Regions from separate parts of the Homo sapiens genome. Here region 2 is linked to region 1. Evidence: promoter capture Hi-C in 16 types of primary human blood cells and fetal thymus (Javierre and others, 2016). All regions are on one chromosome and are shown on one strand. Each heading gives the region's core, a stretch centred on a gene start or on the middle of the fragment in contact. The rest is flanking DNA. Distances are from core to core; before and after follow the strand shown. Region 1 holds the start of OR5A2 (olfactory receptor family 5 subfamily A member 2). Region 2 has its middle 57 kb from the start of OR5AN1.

The links. The method cuts DNA at HindIII sites, captures the fragments that hold promoters and counts their contacts. A CHiCAGO score of 5 or more calls a contact.
Region 2: a contact is called between a fragment that was not itself captured here and the fragment with the promoter of OR5A2 in region 1, in 2 of 17 cell types (total B cells and M0 macrophages). The highest score is 6.2, in total B cells.

What each region holds. Positions count from the first base shown.
Region 1 is chr11:59,425,096-59,428,105 of GRCh38, reverse strand. It overlaps OR5A2 (olfactory receptor family 5 subfamily A member 2), which reads left to right and starts at 1,693. Exons shown (of 2, transcript NM_001001954.2): 1 at 1,693-1,935. The HindIII fragment of the contact is 12,260 bases long and covers 1-3,010 here.
Region 2 is chr11:59,299,789-59,303,149 of GRCh38, reverse strand. No RefSeq gene overlaps it. Among named protein-coding and RNA genes, the nearest start is that of OR5AN1, 57 kb to the left of the region's middle. The HindIII fragment of the contact is 3,668 bases long and covers 218-3,361 here.

The DNA of each region.
Region 1 (3,010 bases), core at 444-2,943:
GCCATGACAGATGAAATCTATCACTACCCTATCTTATCAGCCTTTTCTTTTTCTTTTTCTTTTTTTTTTTGAGACGGAGTCTCTCTCTGTCGTCCAGGCTGGAGTGCAGTGGCGCGATCTCGGCTCACTGCAAGCTCTGCCTCCCGGGTTCATGCCATTCTCCTGCCTCAGCCTCCTGAGTAGCTGGGACTACAGGTGCCCGCCACCACGCCTGGCTAATTTTTTTTTTGTTTGTATTTTTAGTAGAGACGGGGTTTCACCGTGTTAACTAGGATAGTCTCAATTTCCTGACCTCGTGATCTGCCCGCCTCGGCCTCCCAAAGTGCTGGGATTACAGGCATGAGCCACCGCGCCCGGCCCTTATCAGCCTTTTCTAATCCTAGAAAAATGTATCCTTCATAACTGTGAGATCTACCTTTTAAATTTCCCAGATCTTAACTCAGTATCAAACTCTTTCATAGTTAGTTGGGGTTTACTCTTTCAGCATCAGAATTTCCTAGGACAGTTTATCTTCAAACTTAGATAAGAATGTTTCTTTTGAGGATGGACTTCCTTGCCTTTTCATGTTCACAGTTGATTCTTGAAGACATTTACCTCCGTTTCTGTCAACAGTCTTAGTTGCTAAATTTCTTCCCTAAATTAAGCCTGTTACCTTGTAAGTCAAGAGTCTCAGTAATTATACCCCTTTATATAGAAGACATTTCTCTCATTTAATTTTTTTTCTTTTGAGACTGAGGATTGCTGACTTAGTCTCCATGAAATAGATGAATTCATTTTTTATAAACTTTATTTCTGAAGAAAACATTTAAAAAAACAGGAAATCAATGTTTTGAAACATCAGACTTTCAGGGCTGGAGGAATTCTTGGAGAGTGAGCCCAATTCACTCAGGCTGGAGGGGTTAATTGACTTGCCCACAGTGACTCATCCAGGTAGTGGCATTGCTGGTAGTAGCACCCAAAATATTAAAAAGAGAAAAGAAGAGCCCCATCAAGCCCTTCATCCCATCCAGCCTCATTAAAAAAAATAAAGAGAAAAGAAATCTTTTCATCGTGATGCAAATAAGTCACAATAAAAAGATAGAAAGGAAAGACATATTTTTGGCCATGACCCAAGAAACAGAGTTAATGACATCATTAGTTTACATTCATTGAGTGATTTCTGTTTGTTAGGCACTGTGCTAAGCCTTTCTTATTCACAGCTTATTTAATTATCACAACTCTGTTGAGGTAGGTATTCTTGTTACACCAGTTTTACAAATGAGGGAGTTGATAAGTTTAAGACATTAAACAACATTGAACATGTTTATATTGATAAAAGGGCAGAGCCAGAATTTAAACCCAATTCTCAGAGTTGGAAACATGTGTTTCTAACCAGTATATTTCAGCACAAGGCTTGGTGTGTTTATGTGTGATTTACTTCTGATGAAATTTCTTTTAAGCAAAAGGCATCTACTAACCCAGCAGGGAGTCTTCCTGGACTCAAATCAGGGAAAGCTCAGAGAAGAATAGGTAGGGGGATGGAAAGAGGCTCCCGTGATGAGCGGTTGGCTCTTTTCGCCACCACTCCAGGGAACAATTAGTGCTCAGAAATGTTTAGCTCTAATGATTGCTGGGCTTTTTATGTTGGACCCTGGAGTGAGTGGCAGAGGGCAGCCTCTTGGGGAAAGAATGTGGCTACCTCTGCCCATTAAAATAATGAACTCCCACAGCCCATTTATTTGGAAGACTTGTTAACAAAGGAGCGGAGATTCCAGAAGCATGGTTTACTATTTACATGAGGCCAAAGCATAAGAAATTGATGGAACGAGAAACCAGCCATGGAGCAGTGGGAAATGCAGATGATCTGGTTTGCAAAAGATGTTATGGCAACAAAGCAATCAATATTTCTTCTCTTGTAGCACAAGATTGCAGGACCCTTCTGCCCAATGCAATCCAGTAAGTCCAGCTCATTCCCTCCTACCTCATCCATTCAGCAGCAAATCACAACTATGCATTTACAGCCTATTCTACCTTTTATTTGTAAAATGGGGCGAGAAACGCTGCCACTTCTTGAGTCTATTAGGAGAATTAAATGGGTTTATAAAAATCAAGTCTTTCAAACAGTACCTCGCACACAATAAGTACTAAATAAGTGTTTGATTATATTATTATATTATGATCGTTATATGATTATTGTTTGTGATTAATTATATATTATGTGTTTTGTTCTTATAATAGTAACACACCAAATATAGTAAGTCATAGGCCAAACCCTTCTGGTAAACTCTGAGGATAAGTGGTGGAAAAAAATCTATTTATTCAGCAAAATATTTAGTGGGCACCTATGTCCCAGGCCCTGTTCTTTGTACTTATGATAAAACTGTCTTTGCAAAATTATAACTGAGGAAATTATGACAGTCAAAGAAATCATATCTACCTGACTCCATCTTGCTTCTAATCTTTAAGCTGTCTTTGTCCATTCTTGGGCATAAGCTGAAGTAACTTTGGGAAGGAATTCAGTTCATGGTTTGACTCTGAAACAAAATTAATAGCAGCTCTTTCCTGAAGAGACCCCCCTTTTGCCTAGGGACCAGTCTGTCTTTGCAGGACTAACAAATTAGCTGCAAGATTAGAAATTACTGTTTAGGGGTCATGCAGCCTCTGACTCCAAGAGTATAAACCTTCCCAAATTGGCCCCGGGGATAACATCACTACTGTAAAACCTAAGATCAGTGCTTGAGATATTTTGCAGACCCTGCACTAGATGGATCAGCTGACACCACCCAGACCCGTTAACTGGCTCAACCAGTTCTGCCATCCCACCCAGGAACAGAAGACAGCAAGAAAAACTCACTTCGACCCATTTGATTCCATCTCCAGCCTAACCAATCAGCATTCCCCACTTCCCAAGCCCCTACTCGCCAAATTATCTTTAAAAACTCTGATCCCTGATGCTCAGGGAGACTAATTTGAGTAATAATAAAACTCCAGTCCTCCTGCACAACCAGCTCTGCCTGAATTACTCTTTCTC
Region 2 (3,361 bases), core at 802-3,301, 130 kb after region 1:
GAGCCCAGCCAACAAAATGCCACTTTCAAGATCAAGCAAGTTCAGGGTGATTATATTTTTCCCAAGTCACATCACCTCTGGATAATTTTCAGAGCTATTTTCAGGTCCATTTTAAGGGATAACTCGATGTCACAATGTACATCAAGTTAATTGAGTCAATTGGATGCATGATTCCCAATGACTCCATGCTTGCCCATATTCCTTGTCTCAGAAAGCTTTTTAAAGAAAGGCACAGGGTGAGCTCTATCAGCAGGGGATACCACAGCATTGTGGCTTCCCAGAAGAGGGTCTACCCCTCCCATCACTCCAAGCAGGATCAAAGAATCAGTCTCTTAAAAGAACAGACAGCAGACACTATGGGTGGAAGGCCACAGATGCCCTACAGATGTAGTTGGGCAACTATTTTCTAGGTTTTACCAGGCTGGTTTATAAGTCTATTTGAAGACTGAGAATGATTTTAGAGAACACCTTCTTATATTTACCCTGGACACAGTAAAATAAATAAATGACTGTTTACATTATTTTCAATGAGTGAAAACAGCTACTTACCAAGACAGACAAGACATGCTTTAAGCAAAAGTATAAAATTCTACAACTTTGTCCTCTGTGCCACTGCCTCCCTCTTTAAGCCCCTCTCATCCTAATTCTGGGTTCTTTGTTCCTTCCATTACCACTAGCCTGTGTTCTCATGCAGCTGTCTTTTCCTGTGACTGAAGGCGTCAGCTAAATTCTGGCCCTATCAATGACTGGCTGTGATAGCGTGAGCACTGCCTCAGAGTATCCCTCTCTGAAAAACACTGAAGTGTTTGCTTCAGTCTCAAAATCTGGTCCAGTTTCCTTAATTTTGAGGATTCCTTTGCTTGACATTGCCATCTACTGTTCCTACTTTTCCATTTTCTTCTCTCCTTTCACTGCTACACTGGCATAACTTCCTTCAATACCTGGCTTTGCTCTAATCCCCTCTCAGCCCCATTCCAGATATCCCTATCTGAGACTGGTGAGTTCTACCCTAACAAATCTGTTGAAATTGTGCTGGTAAGACCACATCTTCCTTCGTTCTTGCCAAATCAACAGCTCTCTGCTCATATTTTTCCCCCTTGAGTTCCATGTCATGTTCACTAAGTATCACCGGGTGGTGACAGCCTTGAGGATCAGGATAAGGAATTTGGATGTCATCAGGCCATGAATGAACAACAAAAATAATGAAGGCTCTTGAGCAAAGAATGACATGATTGGATTTGTACTTTAGGGAGGCTCACTTGCAGATTAAGGAGGAAGGATTGAATTGGAGAGTCTGAAGGCAAATTGTTAACAATCACTTTAAAATTGAGTGAGTCCCCGCTGATGTCAAAAAATTGCCTGGAGGTAGAGATGGCATGAAAGAAGGATTCTATTGATTCTATAGATAATTAGATCTATGGATAAGTAGTATCAAAGAACAGGAGAATCTATTCTGAAGGAGGGGGCAAGGGAGGCAGGAATTGTAAAACACCACAGTCTTCTCTTCTAGTTTGCTATCCTTACACCCTTCAGTCCACAATAAGAAGTGAAAAAACAGAGGTTTCTTTAGGTTTTCAGGTTTTTTTTTCCACACAAAAGATTTAATTACAAACTACTGCATTGGTCATAGTAATCATTTCCCCAATATCTAGCCTTAGAGAGAGACCCCAAGAATGCAGGCGTGATGCCCAGAGCTGGGAACTCGAGGAGGGGGTATAATTTGCTTAGCTTCACAGTAGGAGACTCTGGCCCTGGCAGAGGAGAAACTGATTGAATTTTGGGTGGAGAAGGGAAACTGTAACATATTTTTCTCATCTGGATGCAAGTTGAAGAGCTGCCAACATCAGCAGGGTATGGCCACCATCTTTCACAAATCCTTGAAAGAAGCTGTAGTGTCCTGTGGGTTTACACAATGCCCACTTCCTTCTGTTTCTTGAGTGTTCCTCCCCAAATAGAGCCCCAAACTATTTTTGTAAATAAAGACTTATTGAAACAAATTCATGTGCATGCATTTTCTTATCACCTACTTTTGTGGTACAATGGCAGTTAGATAGTTACCACAGAAACCATTTGGTTGCAAAGCCTGAAATATTTACTAGCTGATCATTTAAAGAAAATGCTTGTCAACCACATTCTAAAAAAGTCCTAAAATGAATTTTTTGACAAAGATACTAAATCACTTCTTTTTTTTTGGTCGGGGGAAGTCCCTCTCTGTCACCCAGGCTGGAGTGCAGTGGCTCAATCTCGGCTCACTGCAACCTCCACCTCCCAGGTTCGAGCAATTCCCCTGCCTCAGCCTCCCTAGTAGCTGGGATTACAGGCGTGTGCCACCAAGCCCAGCTAATTTTTGTATTTTTAGTAGAGGTAGGGTTTCACCATGTTGGCCATGCTGTTCTTGAATTCCTGACCTCAGGTGATCCACCCACTTCAGCCTCCCAAAGTTCTGGGATTGCAGGTGTGAGCCACTATGCCCGGCTGCAAGTAATCACTTCTCATTTACCTGTGCCATTAATCCAGATGACATTGCAATCAGATTGTTTTCCTTAGAGAGATTCATGGCTTTGTTTAGGATATTAGTAAACATATTGTCTCTGTGAGTCAATATGATGTCCCATAGTGTCAAATAGGTAACCAGGGAGAAAGTCAAGTTCCTTAGACTCTCTAACATGCCTCTTCCCCTACTCACATCCTGAAGACTGCATAGCAAGCTCAGCAAAACTGAGAGCTGATATACATTGAGCTCCTGTCTGCGCCTTGTAGAGCTTTACATGGAGGATTGCAGCCAATCCTCTCAGCAACTGCACCTACTGTACAGAGGAAGCTCCTATTGTTTGTGTTTCACAGTTGGTAAGATGAGGGCTCAGGGAAACTCCAGGACTTGTGCAAAGTTACCTGTTGGGCTAGAATGTTGTCTATATTTCAATTCTGAAATCTCTATTTCCCATCCATATTTGTCATTCTAGCAGTTGAGATATTTGAGTAACTAGCAAAGCAAGAACAAAGTCTAGAGACTGAATAGACTCACAATCCAGGCTTTGCTCTTAATCTCATATTGAGATTACCAATAAATAGAAGAGGCAATAGGAATATTTCAATAGGGGACCCAAAGCTCCCAATTCTACATAATTCTGTGATGGAAGAACCACTTAAAGTGCTTTATTCATCTTAACTTATTCATGGTTATTTCAGGTAGAAAGAAAAATGGTGGCAATTTTTACTTTGCTTTAGCTCAAGTTTATCTGAATATCCCATGGTAAAAGAGGAAAAGATTGAATGTGAGATTGGCTTTATGTTACCCAATAATGTAATAAATTTAGAAATATGAAATCTGCCAGTAGTTAACCTAGAGAGACCAAGCACA